Regions from separate parts of the Homo sapiens genome. Here region 1 is linked to region 2. The links are contacts of gene promoters, found by promoter capture Hi-C in blood cells and fetal thymus (Javierre and others, 2016). All regions are on one chromosome and are shown on one strand. Each heading gives the region's core, a stretch centred on a gene start or on the middle of the fragment in contact. The rest is flanking DNA. Distances are from core to core; before and after follow the strand shown.

Region 1 (5,172 bases), core at 1,297-3,796, 1.3 Mb before region 2:
TAAATACATGAATGAATGAATACTAACATGGCTCATGACTTTAACATTGATTTTCAAACTCAGCTTTATGGAGTCTCAGCTATTTTTCAAAGCTCAGTGAGTGAGGAGCTGAGTACACGGAATCCTGTCTTCCACACTGCACTTTAGCCAGAGGAGTGCCATTAAAAACACTTTTTTTGTCTTTGATTTTAGCCTCCAAGTAAAAAGCATTTGAAGAAAAATTTTTTGAATCTTGAGATAGAGAGATAGAGAGTTAGATAGATAGATAGCAAGAAACCACTGGCTGCAAGAATGAAGTTCTGCATTTAATTGTGCAAAATCTGGTCATGATCTATTCGTCCACACTTGTTTTCCCTCACTCTATCACATGAATTCTTTGTTTAGTTTATCTTGTATGATGTGTCCAGATATGCCCTTTCTAATCTCTACACTTTTGTTCCCCCACGCTCTATCCTTTAACCCCAGGTCATATTATAAATCTTCTCTGATCTCCATGGCCAGATGTGCTCACTCCTTACGCTGAATTCCAATAGCATTTATTGTGTCTCAAGGCCCATCCTTTATGTTGCATGTTTTACCTCTTCAACCAGATTGTTCCTCCTTCCCTTCCCCTTCCTTCCTTCCTTCTTTCCTTCCTTCGTTCCTTCCTTCCTTCCTTCCTTCCTTCCTTCCTTCCTTCCTTCCTTCCTTCCGGCTTTGCTCTTTGCTTTAGATGGAATACTCTCAGGAAGTGAGAATAATTTTATATGATTGGGTGTCTTCATAAATTATCCATTGAGAAAGCAAACTAGAGCAAGGTTAAAGTTGTAATTGGTAAAGGAGCAGCTGTCACTCATACCAGCCAGGAGAGGGGGCTGTTTAGTCACTTTCGTGGCTTGGACAACGCTCATGTTGTGTCTGTTCAGATGGCCGTATGGTGATTTTTTTGTTTTGTTTTGTCTTTTGTCTTGGCCCACATCATGATCACAGAGTAGCCTTGTTTGTGTTGATGTTCACTGGGTGCCTGTTATGGGCCAGGCGTGTTGCTAGGTACTGGGATTCATAAAAGGGAAGACAGACATCTCTCCCTCACGGTTTACAATTTAGTGAGGGTTGGGGAGTATATCAATCGAGGTTCAAACAATGAACGGAGTAAGTAGAAAACATAAAGACATTTACTGTAAGGAATTGTCTTCCAGGATTCTGAGGCTGACTAGGCAAGTCTGAAATTCTTAGGGAAGGCCATCAGGATAAGTGTCAGCTGAAACTTTTGCCACAGGCAGAATATCTCATTCTCCTGAGAGGCTTTTATTCTTCTCTTTAGATCTTTCAGCTGAGTGAATCAGGGCCATTCAGACTGTGTACGATAATTGCCCTTACCTAAAGTCAGCTGATTATGGATTTTAATCACCTCTACAAAATACCTTCATAAGACCCAGTACAGTGGCTCATGCCTATAATCACAACATTTTGGGAGGCCAAGGTGGGAGAAATCTGCTGTTAATCAGATAGGTTTTCCTTTATAGGTTACTTGATGCTTTGCCTCGTAGCTCTTAAGATTCTTTCCTTTGTCTTGACTTTAGATAACCTGATGACAATGTGCCTAGGCGATGATCTTTTTGTGATGAATTTCCCAGGTGTTCTTTGAGCAAGGCCGGGGAAAGTTTTTTCGATTATTCCCCCAAATATGTTTTCCAAACTTTTAAATTTCCTCAGGAATGCTGATCTTTCTCAGGAATGCCAATTATTCTCATATTTGGTCATTTAACATAATCCCAAACTTCTTGGGGGTTTGCTCATTTTCAAAATTCTTTTTTCTTGTCTTTGTTGGATTGGGTTATTCCAAAAACCTTGTCTTTGAGCTCTGAAGTTCTTTCTTCTGCTTGTTCAATTCTATTCCTGAGACTCTCAAGTATGTTTTGCATTTCTCTAAGTGTGTCCTTTATTTCCTGAAGTTGTGATTGTTATTTATGCTACCTGTTTCACTGAAGATTTCTCCCCTCATATCTTGTATCATTTATTTGATTTCCTTAAGTTGGACTTCACCTTTCTCTGGTGCCTGCTTGAATAGCTTAATAATTGACCTTCTGAATTCTTTTTCTGGCAATTCAGATTTTTCTTCTTGGTTTGGATCCATTGCTGGTGAGCTAATGCGACTTTTTGGGGTGTTAAAGAACCTTCTCTTGTCATATTACCAGAATTGTTTTCCTGGTTCCTTCTCATGCGGGTAGGCTATGTCAGAGGGGAGATCTGGAGCTCAAGGCTGCTGTTCAGACTCTTGTGCCACGGGGTACTCCCTTGATGTAATATTCCCCCTCTTTCCCTAGGGATGTGGCTTTCTGAGAGCCAAACTGTAGTGATTGTTATTTCTCTTCTGAATCTAGCCAGCAAGCAGGGCTGCCAGGCTCTGGGCTGGTACTGGGGGTGTCTGCACAGAGTCCTGTGAGGTGAACTGTGTTCAGTTCTCTCAGCTGTGGATACCAGCACGGTATTTGAGATGTCTCCTGGATCCTGCAGGAGGAATCCACTTCCTTCAAAGGGTCTGTGGATTCTCTTGGCTTTTCTGGTATACTCCTGCAGTAGTTTTTGGAGCAATAGTCCACAATGCTAGTCTCCACATTCTGCTCTGTCTATCCAGAGTGGGAGCTGCACTTTAGTACTGCCTCCTATCTGCCATTTTTTTTTCAGTCACCTGTCAGTTGAGAAATGTGTTTCTATTTTCCTTTGGATAACTGGAAGCTAACTAATGTTAAGTTTAATTTTTAATTTAATGTTTAATATTAAGACTACTTAAAAGACTTATCCCAGGAGCTTAATGCAATTATTAAAGTCATTGAATCTGAAACTAGGGAACTTTAAAAATACCAGTGCCTGGGCTCCACTGTGGACCAATTAAATCAGAATCTCTGACAGTTAGGGCCCTGACCTTGGTAGTTTGAAAATGTTCCCAGGTGATTCTGATATAGCCAAGGTTGAGAATAAATGCTCTAAATATATTTGAATTTTTTGGTTTTCCTGTTTTATACATGTTTTGATATTGAAATGATCATTCTATCATCTTTGGAAATAAATGCCTTCATAAATTGGAAATAACTAATTATTTCGGTAAAAATAAATACATGTTATTAAAGCCACTGAGACACTTGAAATCACCTTCCTAGACTGTAAGCACATGGAGGGCAGGTACCACGTGTTACTTAGACATTCATTAGGATAGGCAAGGTTGTGCTATAGAAACAAACAAACACGAAATACACAAATTGCTCCCCTCTCAATTCTTAGATGATTCACAAAACAGAAGTTTATTTCTCACTTCTGTAAAGTAAGCCTGCTGTGCTCTAGGTGACTCTTCAGGCCACCAGTTCTCTGTGGATGACTCATGTGCTGCTCCACATCAACACATGGTCTCAGGATCACTGAGACAAGGGCAGAGAGGTTGTAGAGTTCAGAACTGACAACTGACACATGACACTTCTGTTCAGTTTTTTTGGTCACCTAGCCATACATAACTTCAAAAAAAGGGGGAAAGGGCTGTGCACAGTGGCTCAAGCCTGTAATCCCAAAACTTTGGGATATCAAGGTGGGAGGATCACTTGAGTCCAGGAGTTCAAGACCAGTCTGGGCAACATAGTGAGACCTTGTCTCTACAAAAAAAAAAAAAAAAAAAAAAAGAAAGAAAGAAAGAAAAAAAAGAAAAAAAATTAGCGAGGCAGGTGGCATGTGCCTGTAGTCTCAGCTATTCAGGAGACTGAGAGGTGAGGATTACATGGGCCCAGGAGTTTGAGCCTGCAGTGAGCTATGATTGTGCCACTGCACTTCAATCTGGGCAACAGAGTGAGACCTTGTCTCTATAAAAAAGGTGGGGAGGAATGTAATCCTTTGAGTACATGGAAGTTGAAGAAAAATAGATACTGATTAACATTAGTAATATCTAGCCTGTTTGGTTTTATATTTCTGCACTTAACCTAATAACTCTCATAGTGTGAGAGCTTACTAGATATTCAGGAATCCACATTAAGTTACCCTCTCTTATCCTTACAGGATATGTTCCAGTCGCCAGTGGATGCCTGAAACCTATATATATAATATTGAGCCCTGTATATACTATGTTTTTCCTGTACATGCATACTATGATGAAGTTTAATTTATAAATTAGGCACAGTAAGAGACTAACAATGATAATTAATAATAAAATAGAACAGTTAGAAAAGCTATCACAATATACTGTAATAAAAATTATGTGAATGTGATCTGTCTTTTCCCTCAGCTACTAAGTGACGGAGGGCAGGTAGTGTCTACAGTCACATGCTGGTCAAAGGGATGATTCGCTTCCCAAATGGGACAGAGTGGGATGGCATAAGATTTCATCATGCTACTCAGAATGGAAAGCAATTAAAAATATATAAATTGTTTATTTCTGGAACTTTTTACTGATTATTTTTGGGTCCTTGGTTACTCAAGGACCACAGTTGACCTTGAGTAACAAAACTACAGAAAGTGAAATTGTGGATAAGGGGAAACTACTGTGCCACATTTTCTTCACTGTTAGAGATTATGCATCATTGTGGGTGTTCATGCATGTGTGTGCATGTGTATTTTTCTCTCCAGGCAGGTGCATCTCGGCATATTGGCTCTGCGAGTCTATAGCTCTGCAGATTTGCTATCTCTGGGAGTGGAAGAGCAGAGCTGGGATTCCCATACCTATAGCTGTGAGATCCAAGGTGACCTCAACCACAATGATAGTGCCACCACAGACACTCCAACTACTCATTGATCCTCACTCACGTTTTCAGATTTTTCTCATTTATACTCAATAAAAAAGCAAATAGAACTTCCAGAGTGTTTAAATGACTGGGGACAATAGCCTTGCCAAGTAGACACATAAAACTGACCCACCTTGGGAAGAACAGTGAACACATTATTCAAAAATATCACAATAAGTTTCAGGGAGGAGACAAATAACTCTATTTTCTATAGACAAAAAAAAAATCATTTTGCAACAAACCCAGATAAGTTCTGTTGTGAGTCAGTAACGTAGTTCCTGGATTGCTCCCCTGGTCAGATACATACCACTGGCTAGTGCTGTCCCTGCATCCCCAGATCGGCATAGCTCTGGAGAATGGGGACTTGACTAGAAAGGGAAAGACAGGCTGTCCTGAGGTCAAGGCTTTTCAAGAACCTTACCAGTGACCT
Region 2 (4,916 bases), core at 470-2,969:
CCTGCCAGCTCCCCTCAATCATTCTGCTCCTTTGGAATAGAAGTTACGCCTTTAACCGAAGGAGAACTTCAAATGCGCCACTGGTATCTGGTGCCACTGCCAAAATATATTTACATCACCTTCTATCAGTCATTCAGAGCCCAGTGCTGATATTCTCTTAGTAAGACAAGGAGGGGGTTAGGAGGTTGGTCATCCACCTCCTCATCTGCAAGGCTAAATGCAGGTTTTCTTGTTTATTCTACTTGAGACCCTGGGGAACTGGTCTGGTGTCTCAGGCTCTGATAAATTGAACACACTCCCCGCAAATCATGGCCCAGGGAGCTTTGGAAAGGAGCTGTGGGGCATCTGTTTCTGCTAAATGCAATGCCCTCTGCGGGTTGTTCCTCTGTATGAGGACTCCTAGACAAAGGTTAGCCTCTCCCTGCATCTGAGAAACTGTGCTTGGGGCTGTAAATGTTCATTGAGAAGCCTCCAACCTAGCCAGGGCCTGGCCTCATTGTCCTAAGTCTTCAGATGCACTCAGCCTCCAATGGTGCTGTATTTTACCAGTTAAACACGTCTTCAAAGTTTACTACGAAACAATGTGGCTCCTAGCTTGCCAAAAGTTTAACTGCAGGATTCAGTGGATTTTATCTGGCAGAGTAGCTGCCGTGACTCTTGACAATATTTGCCAGCAAAAGGCAGTCCTCAAACCTTGCAACCAGGGCAATCCCAAGGCCCAACGTGTCACTGAAGGAGTTCTTCTGGGAAAGGTCCCTCTTTCTCTTCAATCGCCTCCCGCAAATCCCCAGCTTCCAGAATCCAATTCAAGGCAGTCTGGCATTTCAGGAGACAGCAGTAAAAAACTTTTGATGGGATAACCCAGGACATAAATATTCCTGGCTGAACCTACTTTTGATTCTTAAATATCTGAAGGAGCTTGGGTTTAAGGAAGATAAAGGGAGAGAACCAATGAATAGGGAAAAATAAAATAAGTAGCATACCATGACCAAGCCAAACCAAGCTTGATATTTCCACATTATATTGGCAAATGGATGCTTTCACATATCACTTGTTCTGTCTTTCCTGGTGACCACAAAAAAAAAAAAAAAAAAAAAAAAATCTGGCTTCAAAAATCCTAACCCCAGACCACTGCATTGTGTCAGTGGAATGCAATCTAAATTGCCAGTCAGAAAGTCCAACCTTATATGTACCAACCAACACGCACACAAGCACCTCCAAGCCAAAAGTTGTAACGCCTGAACCCGTGCGTTTATCAATTTCATCATCCCCATACCCCTGCCGGGTTCCTGGCGCTGGGTAAACCGACAGCATCATGTTGCCATCGATGCGTCTTACAAGATGGTTTTGGGCAAATCCCCTAAAGTAGGCAGAAGCAAAAACTAGGTTCCTCTGCCCGGGCACCTCCTCCTCCAGGCTGGCCCCCGGCTCCCGGGTGCCCCTTACCTGCAGGCGCTCCGTGGCCGGCTGCCACATCTTCCAGCCCTGGGTTTTGGCAGAGGAGACGCTGGCGAGACTGTCGATCGCGCCGGGGGGCGAGGGGCTGGGGTCCCGCTTTACATCTGGGGTCGGTGTCCGCGGGATGTGCGTCCTGGCGCTGGCCACCGCCGCCGGGTGGGCGTAGGGGGCTGCGAGCAGGAGGAGGCGCGGCGCTCAGCTGCCGGCAACTTGTGGGCACGGCCGCGCGCCGGCTGTCCTGGCGCAGCTGCGAGAGGACTGCGCAGCTCCGCCCGGGCCCGGCGAGCGCGCGGCGGCGGCGGGGGCGGCCGCTCCCTCCTCCCCCGCCGCCGCCGCCCGGACCTGCGCGCTCTGAGCATGCCCGGGGCGGGCGCCCAGGGGCCGCGCGGGGCGGGAGTGCAGCGCGGCCGACTCTAAATCCTAGTGAGGGGTGAATGGGGAGGCTAGAACAGCCGGCCCTTCCCTGCAGGAAGCCCCCATTGGGTTGGGGTCTGGGAAAAGGGACAGACTGGCTGAGGGGGGAAGGGCCTGGAGCCGGGGGTGGTGGGGGCAGCGGGGATGTCGGGGGTGGCGGGGGTGGGGGAAATTCCTAAAATAAGGAAACCGTAGCCCCGGGGGTCCCGGGTTTCCATATAACAGGCATCTCTGAAGTGCCTGTGCTGTGCCTGGCGCTGTGCTAGGGAGACACTTCCATTCATTCTTCCCACTCCAGTTAACTGAGCATCTATTAGGCTCCAGCCCCTATGCTGGGTTCTGAGGATGCAGCGACGCAGAATAGAAGACAAGAGAATGTTCCTTCTCTCTGGAGCTTACCTTCTGCTTTGGAGAGAGAGTCGTGACTGAGCAAACACATCAACAAGCCGGTGCTATATCGGGTGGTGATAAAACAGGGCAGATGTGGGAAGAAGGGGAGAGGAGAGCTTCTTAGACAAGGGCCCTGGGGAATGCCTGGAGTAAGACCTGAGAGATGAGAGGGATTGGCCACGAAGAGGCCATGCTTCATGATGGGGAGAGGACTCGACTCCTAACCTATACAGGGGTGAGGAGGGCCATGCAGACTCCCGAATCACTAACTCATCCTGAGATCTGCCAGGTGCAGCAGGAGGCTCTCAGAACCCAAGGGAAAGCCGCTCTGGGCTCGCAGGCCTGGAGGCTCCCCGGCTAGTGCCGGCCACCATGAGATGACTTCCTGTCCTAAACAGGCCAGCCCTTCCCATTCTCTTGACAACTCGGCAAAATAACTATTAATATTTTCACCATGTGGATCAAACAAATGAGGCTTATAAGGTTTAGGTCACTTGTCCAGGTCACACAGCCAGTGAGTGGCTTAGAGAGTGCACAGTCAGATGACTTCAGGGCAGGAGATGTGGCCCTGCGCCTCTAACTGACCATGGAAACCCAGTGGAAAGAGCATCCGTCTAGGGCTGGGGGTTAAAGGCACTTGGCAAGTCAGGGATACTAAGCTGATTCTCGAGCTGATGAAGAGTGGGAGAGGAGAACATGGTGGGAAGAACTCAGGACATAGAATGACCAAAGAGAGGAGCAGAGAGAACACAATGTTTGTGGGGAGCCCTAGGCTCCTACAAGGCAGGGTCCTGAGAGCAGAGGGGTGTGAAAGAGAGGCATTTCATACTGAGACAGCTGCACAGCTTGGGCCGTGAGCTACTCATGCAATGTCAAAATCCACACTCCATGTCTGGAAGGAGGATCTGTCCATTTTCCTTGTTCTGCATGACTACAATGATTTCCAGATATGGAACCACTCCAGAATCTAACCCTCAGCTCATCGGACCCTCGCAGCAACTCTCCGTGGGACAGAAGCCCCTATCTCCCAAGGCTTGGGGAGCACAGGGTTCACAGAGTCACACTGTGGGGAGTTACAATGGCGATTCAGATCCAGGATTCCAGGCAGATCCTTCTGGACCCTGCGGTTGCTATGTTGGTGCCACCAGCCTTGGCAAGCCCAGGACCCTCAGTGCCTCTAGGAGCCTCTGGCAAAGCCACAGAGCTGCCTCTGAAGAGCTTGTCTCTGTCTCCCTGGATATCCACAGGACCCTCCCACTCCTGCCTGATAACCACCTGAACCTTCTCAGCTCCTTCTCCAGTTCCTGCTACTTGTTCTGAACTTATTAATAAATCTCTTTTCATGAGGTGTTTGCCTGTCAGCCCGCACAGACATGTGCCTCACATGCTTGGTGATATGGTCTCTGTTTGCTTTTCCGGTAACTCCTCCTGCACACCTCCACACCTACAAAATTCCTTATGACCTTCCCAGCCCCCAGTTCTCTTTTATCAAATCCCAAAGTAGAAAGAAATGCAATTCATTACAAAAATCTAGAAAATCCAGACATGCATATAAACCCCACCCCCCAACCCCCCCAGGAAGCTAAAACAGGAATATTCAGTTGCCAGGGATGTCTTCAGACTTAAGCTCTGAAACCATCCTTGCTTGCAGATGCTTCCGTGGAAAAGTGATTTTGTTTTAAATAGCAGTGGAATGAGTTAACGGCCTAAATTCAAATCGCATTAGAGCGTTAAATCCTGTCTTCTCACCTCCAAACGTAATTAATTGTTATGACTCAGTAATACAGCTTTTAGTACGGAGTATGGTGCTATTTAAAGAGAAAAAGCTTTGGCTCTGTAAAGATTGCTTTCAGTTACCGTTCCCACTTTGCAAACAGATTTGGTAAAGTAAAGAATGTATTTAAACTCAAATGGCACTCCTGTTTCAATTACCTTTATGCCACGAATCAGGAAGCTAGGGGAGGGGGTGGAGGAGGGGCAATTGCAGGCTTGTGGGAGGTGACAAAAGGATGGGACAACCTCCCACTCATAGATTTTGCTCCCAAGTCTTCCCATTCAGGAGGAGCCTGCAATGAAGGGTGAATGAAATAGAGACATCTGCTGGCTAGAGATGAGACCTGCATGCCAATGTCTCCCAGCTCTGTTCTGTGACATTGGAACCTCATCCTTCCTGGTGAATCTGAAAATGCTGCCTTACGATGTAAACAGGTTTGTTCTGAGCAAGAAACCACCCTTAAAATGAGCAGAAGGTGTTTTGGTGCAATGAGTAGAAATATTAGGCATGTAAATGTGTGCCTAATTTCATGTACTTAGTCTCCTGCAATTACCGAAACAGGTCTAATCTTGTCAATAAATACCATTTGAAGGCAAATGACAGAAATCAAAAAAGCTTGACAAGGCACAGATGCGTTATTCACACATTTGGTTCAGAAAAATAATTACAGCATCCCTAGAAATTGTGTTAAGCCAGATTTGATCTAGTTCATGGTTCTGAGCCCTAGCATAAGCAACCTCAATGTCCAAGTCAGAGTAATGGTGAATGAAAGTATGGTCCAGCATATCAAAGAAATATTAAAATATTATGCAGCATTTAAAAGGATAATTATAAAGTTGTGTTGCAGCTGAAAATGATACAATTATGGTTTTTAAAGTAG

Evidence for each region. Contacts are between HindIII fragments. The CHiCAGO score rates a contact against its expected background, and 5 or more counts as called.
Region 1: a contact is called between a fragment that was not itself captured here and the fragment with the promoter of PID1 in region 2, in 1 of 17 cell types (endothelial precursors). The highest score is 8.9, in endothelial precursors.

Annotation. Positions count from the first base shown.
Region 1 is chr2:227,938,878-227,944,049 of GRCh38, forward strand. No RefSeq gene overlaps it. Among named protein-coding and RNA genes, the nearest start is that of DAW1, 70 kb to the left of the region's middle. The HindIII fragment of the contact is 5,260 bases long and covers 1-5,172 here.
Region 2 is chr2:229,269,568-229,274,483 of GRCh38, forward strand. It overlaps PID1 (phosphotyrosine interaction domain containing 1), which reads right to left and starts at 1,720. Exons shown (of 3, transcript NM_001100818.2): 1 at 1,447-1,720. The coding sequence starts at 1,476. The HindIII fragment of the contact is 3,085 bases long and covers 1,002-4,086 here.